Linked DNA regions of Homo sapiens: regions 1, 2 and 4 are each linked to region 3. The links are contacts of gene promoters, found by promoter capture Hi-C in blood cells and fetal thymus (Javierre and others, 2016). All regions are on one chromosome and are shown on one strand. Each heading gives the region's core, a stretch centred on a gene start or on the middle of the fragment in contact. The rest is flanking DNA. Distances are from core to core; before and after follow the strand shown.

Region 1 (2,835 bases), core at 286-2,785, 1.0 Mb after region 3:
GAATTCAGGAAAGTCTTACCCCATCTAGCACCTGCAGCTCTCTGGACAATTTTTCTGCAAAGGCTTCCGCATTCGAGATTGCATATTCACAGCCTTCCATCATTATTTCGATATCCTGTTCTTCTCTTGCATTTAACTCTTGGTATTCATCTACTACTTCTTCATCACCTCCTGTCACACTCTGATTTTCTCCACTTGGAACAGATTCTTAAAGAGGTAAAAATTCAAAGTAAAATAGTCAAAAAAGTAGAAAAGACTATAACATAATACATATAGGTAGGTATAGTTATAAGCACAGGTCACATTTAGCAGCTGAAAAAGAGGATAGAATGATTCAAATGATATGAAAAAATCAAACTTTATTTTTATAAATAATTTAATATGTTAATGAAATAAAGTTCTAAAAAATAAATAAAAAGCATGCAGTCTAATGCACTAACTTACAAATGTTAAAACAGGCTTTCACCACAGTTTCCCAAAATACAATTAAGCTAAAATGTAAAAACAAAATACAAAAACAGGTGGGAACAAACCTAAACATTTTTTCGTACCTGATGTGGCTGTTGCTCTAACAAAACAATGACTATGAATTCAGTACACACAAAAACAATTTGCTTTCCTTTTTTTCCCAGGTGAAATTTTTCTTTTGTTACTTTTGTTACTTTCATCTTCAGTATGTATATTTTTGCCAAATACTTTTTAATTAAAATGAAAAATGCATCTATAATCCATAATTTATTTTGGTCACTAGAATATTAACTGAATTATCCATTTCTTTGCTTAAAAAAATTTCACATGCATTGATAACATTTCTAAAGATAAGTTACAGCTTTCTCAATAACTCTAAGTAAGAGCAACAACAACATGGCTGTTTGAAATTATAAAAAGTTAAACAGGCTTCATGCTTTATAACAAAAGACCAAGAGGTCAAACCTGAAATGCTTTCTAGATGTTTCAGTTCATTTTTTTTTTTTTTTTGAGGAAATACACTAGCATGTGAGCACTGTATATAAAGCTTGAGGTTAGGAGGTAAAATGAAAGAAATCATTTTTAACTCCTAAGATGTTGTTTTATCACTCTAAATAAAGTTAGCAATTTCACAGACTTAATGGGGCATGATTTAAACCACAAACTCTGGATGCTTTTAGTATTCATTATTTTATAGGAAAATGAATATTTACATTCAGCATGACCTGAAATACGTTCATTTGTCCCAGAACAAAAAGAAGACTAAAACTTTTGGTACAGGCAATTACAGATTTTAGTATATAAGTTCTTTAGAGAGATATTACCGATCTCCTTGTCCTTTCAACGAGTCCATTTAATTCACTGCGAAAAAGTTCAACTGTCATGTGTGACAGCTTATTAGCCACTAGGGGGCAGGGACTGCCCAAATCATTCTGTACAGGTCCTTACACAAGTAGACTTAAACAAATATTTTACATGATTATAATTAACTGCTTCAGAAGTATTTTCTAATGATATGTCCTTGAAAGCCAATAATAAATACTATCATTAATTTTATTACTATGTAGATTTTTAAAATAAATTTGTCCCAGTACATCATTTCATAAAACATACAACCAACGGTATATAACAAAGGCAACTAATAAAAACATATGGAATAGAAGAAGAAAAGGTGTTACGCACCTTCTGTAACTTTAGGCAGTTCTGGAGAGTAAAAAGTATGAAAAAAGCAGAGGAAAGTAAGCAAAGAATATTAGCTGGGTAGAAAAGTAAACAGGCTTAAATTTTTAAAATACTACCCATATCTCATTTGAACTTCATGTTAAAGTTCAAAAGACAGCCAAATCAACTACCAAGTGGAAAGATCCATAAGAAGCTAAATTTGCCGTGTTCATTTTTCTTATTCACTTTCTGATAGTGACTACAAATATATTTATCTTTCTAATTTCTCTTAGTCTTTTAAGAAACAGCACTAACTAACCCTTAGAGGAGAAACCTGGCAAACTAATCATTTCCTGGGGATTATATTTAGGTCAGTTGTGACTCATGCATGTAGCCTAGTTATGTTACTTAAGGCCCAAAAGCTTTACCCAGACACTCCCTCACAGAGGATTAGTCACAAAACATGGTTAGAAAGGACAAGATTGAGGCAAGTAAAAAATTACACAAAATAACAGTTCAAGCCAGCATTTAAGGATTCAAGTCAAAGATTCTTTTTTAAAAAGCTGGTTGCAAGTAAAAGAATGAAAAAAAAGGCCAAATAAAAACTTCAATCTACTTCAACTGCTGAAAAGTCCTCTTTTACAAACCTTATTCTGCTGAGGAGCCCCATTATTTAACTTACGTATTCAATTGTCAACAATAAAAACTACCAAGTTGCCACTGCTACCATTTATAATCAAAATAGTCTTACTTAATTATTGAGCTCTTAAACTGGGGTGGTAATAATTTTTTATTTGTTTTCTAACATCACTCAAAACTTAGAGACATTTTTTTTTAATGGGAATTAAAGGCTGTAATTTCAAGGTCCATAAAACAAGTTTGTAGACATTAATGAAGCTATTCCCTGAACTCCACTAAACCAAAGCAAGAGTTACTGACGTATATAGCAAGTGATTTTCAAAATGAGATCCTTAAGGATCTTCTCAGTATTCTTAAAATCGATCTCAGTTAGGGTTAATGTTTATACACATGAACGTGTCTATACTCTTGTTTTATGGCCTGAAAAATTGAATGCCTTTTTTTTTTTAAGTTAGACACTTCATTTTCAAAAACAGTAATACTCTTCTCACTGATTTTGGTAGTATTTCTTAATGAGGCAGATCCAGGTAGGGTATGTATTTTTCTATATGACTGTCCTGAAATATA
Region 2 (2,853 bases), core at 44-2,543, 1.0 Mb after region 3:
AAATGTCTGGACTAGTATAATCAATATATTAGTGTTGCATTTTTTTAAAAACAGTGAGTTACAGAATAATTACCCATTAATGACAGTCTTCTCTGTCCTACAGAAAAGAATGGAAACATGTACTATCAGTTTTGAATCATGTTTCTTGATTACTGAAGTTGCTTAGGGCATAGGCTCCTTTCAACAGGCAAATGCTAAACTCATTATTCTAAAGGGGAGCTATGCAGACACACTGAGGAGTACACAATGTGGCCATTTAAGGCCAGGTTTTGACTTGAATAGGCACAAAACTCCATCCAAAAGGAACTCCAGAGATGGATACATGCAAGAGCAGAATGTGGCCTCGGCAAATCACCTTCCTCATAACTTGATACTGTCACTGGCTATTCTTTCAAATAATGTTTTTGTCCATTTAAAATACTTATAAACAACAAAAATTAACATGCATCAAAGCATCTCTTTAGAAAAATAAGGTAAAATAACATGAGAATGTTTGGTGACAGTTTTATAGCCCTTTGGCAGGGGAGAAAATATTTAAACTTTCTTTTTGATTCAAAATAGCCAGTGAGAAGTAAGAAGCCAGGAACCAGTTTCATTTCTATGTGGAGAGCAATGACTTAAGAGATTAGTGACTTGCCCCCAACTGTTATAAAAAGTCTTTTAGGGAATCAGTTAAACTGAACTCCCAACATCTGTCTCTCAGTCTAGTACTTTCTCTACTTGACTGCACTTCATTTTCTCACCAACTGCTGTTCTTATGAATATATATATTTGATTACAGCATGAATACACAATCGCTGTCACAGTCACATACTGCAGAATTTTAATTAAAGAAAATTTACAGATATACATATTTGTTCTATGAAACGGCTATAAATCAAGCCAACGTTTTAGACCTCTTTTTTCATAAATTCTGCTGGATCTACCTCCACCTTGCTTAAGAAGTCTTAGAATTATTTGTTATAAATAAAGCCATTTTTAATAGGAAGATAATGAACTGACATGCCTAAGCTTACCAAACTTCTTGCTTTCTTTAGTTGTGCCAGTCATCTTGATCTTTGCAACTTCAAAGAAATCTTTGATTTCTCTTTCATATAGTCGGGATAAATAATCCATGTAATTCTTAAAATAAAAGTAACATGTACTTCTTATTAATAAAACACATATAACAATTTCAATTTTTCAATTCCCCAAGTCCTTCATGCTTGTTTTAAATTTCATAGTCCAAAACTTTGATGTATTTCACAGGATATAAAAATAGGTTACTTTCTGTCTTAAAAAACAATTGAATAGGCATCATAACATTAACAATTTACAAAAATATGAAGTCAAACATAACCATATTTATATTTTCATTTTTCTATATTACCTTTTGCATATTTTAAATATCACTGTAATCACACTATACAGAATATCTAAATCAGAACAAATACATTTCTCCAGTCTCACATTTTAATGACAGCACAGTATTCAGTTTTGTTGGTGTAGCACCATTAAGTAAACCAATCCCCTAACACAGGACAATGAAGTGGTTTCCATGTTTTGCTATGATAGACAATGTTACAATAAGCTTTTCATCTCTAATGAACTATTTCTTTGAAATAATTTCTTAAGGATGGAATAACAGGGTCAAAGTGTATGGGAATCTTAATTGCTCTTCCTCTATATTGTCATGTTGCTTTAAAAACAGACCAATAATAAATAGTGTCAATGGCACTTAAGAATATTTAGTTTCACTGAGCCTCTGCCAGCTTGGGATATTACTCCAAAATAGGTTATTTTCCATAAGAACTTCATTAGTATATCTTACAGTTTTCAAAATCAAGTAATTAATTTTCTTAAAACAGATTTGATTAATTCTCGCTTAAATAAAAACATTTTTGTATCCTTTGGCATACAAAAATCATTTCTTCATCATCTCTACTTATTATCACATAAAAATATACTCTCCAGAAGAGTTCCTCAACAGTGGGAGACTGTATATTTTTCCAAGTATGAAGTTAAATGCCACAAACAGAATTTGACTAAATTTAAATAAACCAGAAAATAAAATTTAAATAAAGCAGAAAAGTTGTACCTATTCTTTTAAGTTTATCATAAAATCTAAGCTTCAATTTCCTATATTATTTCAAATTAATGTGTCAATTTTTAGAACATGTTTACCTGCTTTAAAGATCAGGTATACCTTCCAAAAGGTACATGTTGTGTAAATATTTGTATATTGATTCACAGTTTACCATTGATTGTCTTAAAATATTTTATAGCTGTATTCTTATAAAATAGCATTTGGACCAAACATAATATATATAGATCCTGTCCTTTTTCAATTTGTATGCCATATACATTTTTCACATATCTCTGTATCTAATGTAAGAACAGTTAGTCAAATGGGCAATTATTTCCCATGATCTTTGTATAACTTTAAAAGCAAATATAAATTAAAATTCCTATTTCATTGGGATGTATTACTTTTTCAGTGGGACTCAAATGACTTAGATACCTTTTTTCCTGGCACTCAACAGAACTGACTGATAGGAAAGACCACAGGAAGGTTTTACTGTATCAGTGTCTCTCCAAAACTCTATGATGCCAGCCTGGGCAACATGGTGAAACCCTGTATCTACAGAAAATGCAAAATTAGCCGGGAGCGGTGGCACATGCCTGTAGTCCCAGCTACTCAGGAGGCTGAGGCAGAAGGACTGCTTGAGCCCAGGAAGTTGAGGCTGCAGTGAGCTGTGATCACATCACTGCATTCCAGCCTGGGTGTCAGAGTGAGACCCTGCCTAAAAAAACAAAAACGAAAACAAAAACAAAACAAAACACAATACAACAACAACAACAACAAAAACCCTA
Region 3 (3,003 bases), core at 370-2,869:
CAAGCTATTGGGTAATTTGGCCCAACATCGACTTTTCTAATTGCTCCCTAACCCCTAACTGCCACCCCAAATGGAATTTTAACGATTGTTAGGAAGACCGTCCAGGCACAGCCCGAAAGCCCAACGTGCTGCACGAATTCCTCCGTGCTGCTGCCACCAGCGCCTGCCTCGGCGGCGGCATTCCTAACTGAAATAGGCATTCGGCCATTTTCTCAAAATACCAAACACAAAGCAGCTCTTTGCAAACTCGGGCGCTCTCGCTTCCTCTCGCCTCGGCCCGCTCACTGCACACATTTACACACCAACTCGCGGGAGTCGCCCCGACACTCGTCCTGAGCCTTTTCCTGCGCTCTCCAACACTAAAACGGGGGAGGGGATCAAGCTCGAGGCGCTGTTTGGCCGGAACCAGTCCTCCCCGAGTCCAGGCAGCCCCCTCCCCAGCCCTAGGGCCCCCGTCCCGGGAGAGGACGGAAAGTTACCGCGCAGCCGGCGTCCGGGCTTCTCCGACCGCCCCCGGGCCCCTCCGACCGCCCCGGGGCTCGCCCAACGCCCAGGGCCGGGGAGGCTCCGCGGGCGCCCTCGCGAGGCGTCGGGCTCCGAGCGCCGGAGGGGGCCCCCACACGGGCCAGCCGCCACCCCCGCGCCCCGGAAGTTTGCGAACTTCACTCCCCCACGGCGCCCGGCAGGACGCGCGCCCCAGCCCCGCCAGCTCCAGCGGTCGGGTGGCCGGACGCGGGGGCCAGCGGCGCCGGACGGCTGAAGCGCAGAAATCGCTGTCCAGCCCCGCAGGCGGAACCGCCCGGGCCCCGGGGCTGACTCAACCCGCCCGGCCGCACTCAACGGCGCCTTCCGGCGACAGGGAGAGGCCCTGGGGGAGGGGGCCAGGAGGGCCGCGGGCCGGCGCGGGGCTGCGGTGGGACCCGGGGGCAGGAGGAGGAAGCAGAGGAAGTTTCAGGACTACGGGCCCGAGCAGCTCCGCTCCTTGGCCTCAAAGGACCTGACTCGGTGGAGCGTCCGGGCCAGCGCGGAGGCGGCGTCCCAGCCTCCAGTGGGGAGGGGGTCCAGGCGACGCGCTGCTCCCAACAAACGCCCCCAGCCCCCGGGCGGCTGCTGTGTAACCCGATCCTGCTCGGCCGCCAGCCCCCGCCCGGCGGGGCCGCCGCCGCCGGAGCCACAGTATCTGCAAATCAGCCCTGGACAGCGCCTGACTCCGCGTCCTTCCGCGCCCTCCCCGTCCCGCCACTGCCGCCGCCCGGGCGGCCCTCCCCCACCCTGACCGAGCCCCCAGCCCAGCGCCCCACTTACCGGCCTTCCTCGGTGAGGAGGGGCGGGCGACCCTGAGTCGCCGCTCCTTCTCCGACTACTTTTCTTTGTTGCTGGAGTTTCGGGGGAGAGGTGGGGGAGGGTGGTAAAGTTGGGTGCTGGGGCCGTCGTGGACCAAGAAGGCCCAGGAGTGGGGCTGCAGAGGGTGCTCAGGCCTCCGGGCCTCGCCCTGCCGTCTCGGCTGCGGCAGCCGCCGCCAGGGTCTGGGGCCCCGGGCCTCGGCGGCGCTCGCTCCGCTGCTGCGCCGCGAGCTCGCGGCAGCCGCACATTCCAACACAGGACGCTGCGCCGCGCACCCAGTCCGCGCCGCCGCCGCCGCCACCGCCCGCGGGACACGCCCCCTCCGACGCCCGCGCGCGCCCGCGAGACACGCCCCCTCCGACGCCCGCGCGCGTGGCCGCTAGGCGCGCCCCGCCCCTCTACCAAGCAAGGAGTGCCCCAGTCTCCAGCTCGCCTGGGGGCGCGTCTAGGGGGAGCCGCCCGTAATCCTCCCGGCCCCTCACTCCTGCCCTTAGGTCAGAAAAGAGGCGGGCCCCACTCCCTTTCTCGATTTCTATTACAAACAAACAACAAAAGTTCCCCCCAGCCCTGGCGTGCATGCATGAGAATAGAGCTGTTAAAAGAAGAATCCGCAGGCTTTGACGGGTCTCTTTAGAGCTATTGTCACCGGCCTCTCAAGTCTAAAGCGCTCCAAGATACCCTTCAGATCTCTTCAAGTCTCCACCCATAGCTGTCCTTGACTAATTAAGCTTCGTTTTAAGCGTCTGCGGTAAAAAAAAAAAAAAAAAAAAAAAGTCTTCCAAATTTCAAACTACCGGAGGGGGAATGCAGTCAGTTTGGGAGAAGTGAGAAGAAAACGTTTCAGGAAGGAGGTTATGGACTCAGAAAGCGTGAGCGTGAGGACTGAGGGGACAGATCCCTAGACGTGGCAGGTAGCAGGTCATTGCTGAGCCCGGAAAGCACGACTGCAGGGGAGGAATTACCCTCAGATGACAGAAGAAAAGGTGGTGAGGACGGGGAGGCTGCCTGGGGCCACGGTGTGTCGGAGTAACCGGGCTCACGTCTATGAAGCGGGATAACCAAGCGGAATGCCTAGCCCATAGTCATGTGCTAACAAAAACAAAAACAACAAAAAAGAACAGAGAGAGAGTAATTCCACCCCCTTTCACACCTGAAAGAGCTTCTCAGTCTGCCTTTGATACCTTCCTAAACGTCAGTCGTAAGTCACACCTGTCCTCAGAAGCATAGTGGCTCCCCATGACTACAAGCTTAAAGCTTAAACCCCTTAGTGTGGCGTTCAAGCCCCTACTTAACTTGACCTAGATAAGTCTGACTATTGCTTGGTATTACAACATAAGTAGCAAGTGCTATGGGGGTTTGCCAGTAGGAAGATGGATCCCAAGAGGTTCTAGAAACTTTTCACAGTAGATGTATTCAGTCTGACCTTGGAGAATGAGGAAAACTTCAACAGGTGGAAAGTAGGGCAAGGAACACTCTACACAGTGAAAAGGGCAAGCTCAAAATCCCAAAGCAGTTGTTAAGACATCCCAGCTTCTCCTCAGGGTACCTCACTTCCTTCTCTTTGAAGTTCCTTTATTTGTTTCTCTTAGGGCAGGGCTTCCAGACTCTTCATTTCCTGGTATACCCACGTAGGACCTCTGTTTCCCTCTATCTGGACAA
Region 4 (3,129 bases), core at 605-3,104, 1.0 Mb after region 3:
CTGAAACCAGAATCCCAGTCACTTTTACCTACAAGATTTGTAACCTTCAGTACATGACATCACTGCTCTATGCCTCAAGTTCCTCATCTATAAACCAAGATAATAATAAGACCTTCCTCATAATGCTGTGAGAATTAAATAAGAAATGTACATAAAGTGCTTCAAACTGCGTTTGACACAAGTAAGCACTCATGACATTTTAGCTATTATCTTATATACTCCAATATGCAACACAGATGTGGATATGCACAATTATGTATAGAACTAAGACTAGTGATTACATAAAATGTAATGCTTTAATTTCATTTCCTATAACATTTAAAGTTTTCTTTATCTAAAATTGTTGATGCAAAACCTTGCTTGATGCCTTGGAGGACAGCAAAATGACTCAGACCCATTATCTGCAATCATGTGATTTATAATCTAACAGTGGAGGCTAATATGTAGACAATTACCAAGACACAATGTGATACACACATTGACATAATGGCTTAAATAGATTACATTAATTGAAGCTTACTCTTTATCAGCACAGTACAAAGCACTTTATGAATATATTATAGTATTAAGTCTCATGATGACCTGGTGAGGGTGGGTATTATGATCATCTTCCCTATTTGACAGCTGAGGGAATGTATTCTTCCAAGATTTTTTCTTGTAAATCCTAAATCTCATAAATCCTAAATTCCTGCCAACTTAAGACCAATCGCTATTCCCTAAGCAGTGTTATGCTTTTTACTTTTCATCGTTTAGCTCATATTATTTCTTTCTAGAATGCTACTCCCTCCATCCCCACTTTGCCTGTTCAAGTACATCTGACTTTCAGAGGTTAAAACAAACAATGCAATATCCCTCAGGAAGTCTTCCATGATGTTGAAATCAGAATTACTCTCACTCATATCTGGGCCTTTCAATATGGTTTATAAAGAATAATGGCCTAATTTGGACTTTAAATCTGGCTCCACTACCCATTAGTTAAGAGAGCTTGGTCCTATTACTCCACCTCTCTAAGCTGATTTTCTTTCTTTCTCTTTCTTTCTTTTTCTTTCTTTCTTTCTTTTTTTTTTTTTTTTTAATTGAGACACGGCCTCACTCTGTTGCGTAGGCTGGAGTGCAGTGGTAGGATCATAGTTCACTGGAGCCTCAATCTCCTGGGCTCAAGTGATCCTCCTGCCTCAGCTTCCCGAGTAGCTGGGACTACAGGCACGTGCCACCATGCCCAGCTAATTTTTTTAATTTTTAGTAGAGACAAGGTCTTGCTATGTTGCCCAATACAGTGGCTACTGTACAAGAGATGTATCGTTTCCACTTATCAAATAAGGAAACTAAGGCTCAGAGAGGTTAAGTAACTTCCCAAAGTCACACAGCTTAATCTGGAGCCAGATTATGAACCCATCTCTAATTCCAACCACTCAACCAACCAACCAACCAACCAACCAACCAACCAAAGAAAAACAAACTTAATGCCTCACCATAATATAGCAGAAATACGAAATAAGCAGAAATAGCCATATATGCTTATATAAACAGTATTCCTTTCTTCCTCACAATTCATTAATCTGGTCTGTACTCTAATGGAACTCTCCTCCTGCTCTAGATCTGTAGCATTTCTAGAAAATTATTTAAAGAAAAGCAATATATGTAAGGATCTTTAAGTCAGATGGTCAAAAGAAGTAAGCATACCTGAAGTAAGTTCTCTTCTTCACATAAATGTTTATCAACTTTCTTGTAGAGGTTATCTAGACCTTTTTTTACTTCCTTTCCAGGGTACTCCTTAATGACTTTACGAAGTTCTTGTTTGTTAAATGCAAGTTGGTAACTTACTTCCTCCTCCCTTATGCCCTGTGCCACGCGAGCTTCAACACCTTCAAAGAAATGCTTCAAGGAAATGAAAAGAAACAATGGCTAAGACCTGCATTTATTATTATTTACATTAAAAAAATCTGATTACAAAGTAGTGTATAATCACCATGCAAAAATCAGTGTGTGAAAGTATAAACAATAAAATAACAATCACTTATTAACATACTTCTGAGATGAACATTGTTAATATTGTAGAGTTCCTTGTAATCTTTTGATGTGTGAATACATACAGGAGATTAAAATTTCATGTCCCACTTTACATTTAATATTGTTTTTTCCTAAATATAAATTTTAATGGCTGCATAATATTTCACACAATGACTGAACCACAATTATTATTCATTCCTCTAGTACTAGATATTTAACATCCCACTCCCCCTTCTTTTTTTGGACTTGGCAAATCTAGTGAGACTTTAGAAAATCTACTATAAATATATTTGTCATAAATTTTTTTTGTATATAAGTATTTACCCATCTTACTGATTAAATTTCCAGGACTATAATTACTCTGTTGAAGAGCATAACTTTAAGTATTTGAAAGATTCTTCAGTATATATACAAACTGCTTCCTAGGAAAGCTCAACCAATTTATATTTCTGTCAACAGTGTATGAGGTTGCTACTTCACTATACCATCATAAGCATTATGACAATTTATAACAATAGTTGCCAGAGTAAAAAAAGTTTGTCATTTTATTTTATAATTCTTTGGCTATAAATAAGGTTAACCTGCTTTTATATGTTTAGTAGTGATTCAGCCCCTTGCCCCATTTATAAATTGGGGTCTTAGTGCTTTTCTTATTGATTTTAGTAAGATTTTTTATATTAAATATACTGACTCTGTTATATTATTGTAACTATTATTCCCAGGTCTTCTTTTATATATATACTTTTATTGACTGGCATAACTGTATTTGAGCACGATACAAAGAATTAATGCTGACAAACCCCATTCCCTCTCATTACTTTTTTCTAAAATTTTCTTAGTGATTATTCATTAAATTATCATTCTTTGAGAAGTTATTCTTAGTGCTTTAAAAATTTTGTTTTTACATAAGCTCTTAATTGGTAGACAGGAAATACATTGTTTTTCAGTATATTTGCTTTAAATTTTGTCACTTGACCAACACCAGTAATTTCAACATATCATATACAGGTGGTGATAATCTCGTCTCTGTTTTCCATATCTCTTATTTATGTTTCAGGTCTTGTTGAACTGGCTAGTGCTTCAACAACAATGCTAAATAATAAAGGATCTAACAATATT

The links. Contacts are between HindIII fragments. The CHiCAGO score rates a contact against its expected background, and 5 or more counts as called.
Region 1: a fragment that was not itself captured here is called in contact with the fragment with the promoter of REST in region 3 in 10 of 17 cell types (total B cells, total CD8 T cells, non-activated CD4 T cells and 7 more); the score reaches 12.6 in total B cells.
Region 2: a contact is called between a fragment that was not itself captured here and the fragment with the promoter of REST in region 3, in 4 of 17 cell types (non-activated CD4 T cells, total B cells, total CD4 T cells and 1 more). The highest score is 6.2, in non-activated CD4 T cells.
Region 4: a contact is called between a fragment that was not itself captured here and the fragment with the promoter of REST in region 3, in 4 of 17 cell types (naive CD4 T cells, naive CD8 T cells, total CD4 T cells and 1 more). The highest score is 7.0, in naive CD4 T cells.

The regions. Positions count from the first base shown.
Region 1 is chr4:55,865,708-55,868,542 of GRCh38, reverse strand. EXOC1 (exocyst complex component 1) reads right to left here. Exons shown (of 19, transcript NM_001024924.2): 5 at 20-207. Among named protein-coding and RNA genes, the nearest start is that of EXOC1, 13 kb to the right of the region's middle. The HindIII fragment of the contact is 1,036 bases long and covers 1,018-2,053 here.
Region 2 is chr4:55,882,092-55,884,944 of GRCh38, reverse strand. It overlaps EXOC1 (exocyst complex component 1), which reads right to left. Exons shown (of 19, transcript NM_001024924.2): 10 at 1,017-1,122. Among named protein-coding and RNA genes, the nearest start is that of EXOC1, 30 kb to the right of the region's middle. The HindIII fragment of the contact is 559 bases long and covers 1,014-1,572 here.
Region 3 is chr4:56,906,516-56,909,518 of GRCh38, reverse strand. REST (RE1 silencing transcription factor) reads right to left here and starts at 1,619. Exons shown (of 4, transcript NM_005612.5): 1 at 1,306-1,619. RefSeq lists enhancers at 1-302, 1,233-2,162 and silencers at 393-1,242, 1,353-1,742, 1,842-2,136. The HindIII fragment of the contact is 2,443 bases long and covers 1-2,074 here.
Region 4 is chr4:55,901,093-55,904,221 of GRCh38, reverse strand. It overlaps EXOC1 (exocyst complex component 1), which reads right to left. Exons shown (of 19, transcript NM_001024924.2): 18 at 1,684-1,878. It overlaps EXOC1-AS1 (EXOC1 antisense RNA 1), which reads left to right. Exons shown (of 5, transcript XR_941069.4): 4 at 3,068-3,129. Among named protein-coding and RNA genes, the nearest start is that of EXOC1-AS1, 45 kb to the left of the region's middle. The HindIII fragment of the contact is 2,674 bases long and covers 518-3,129 here.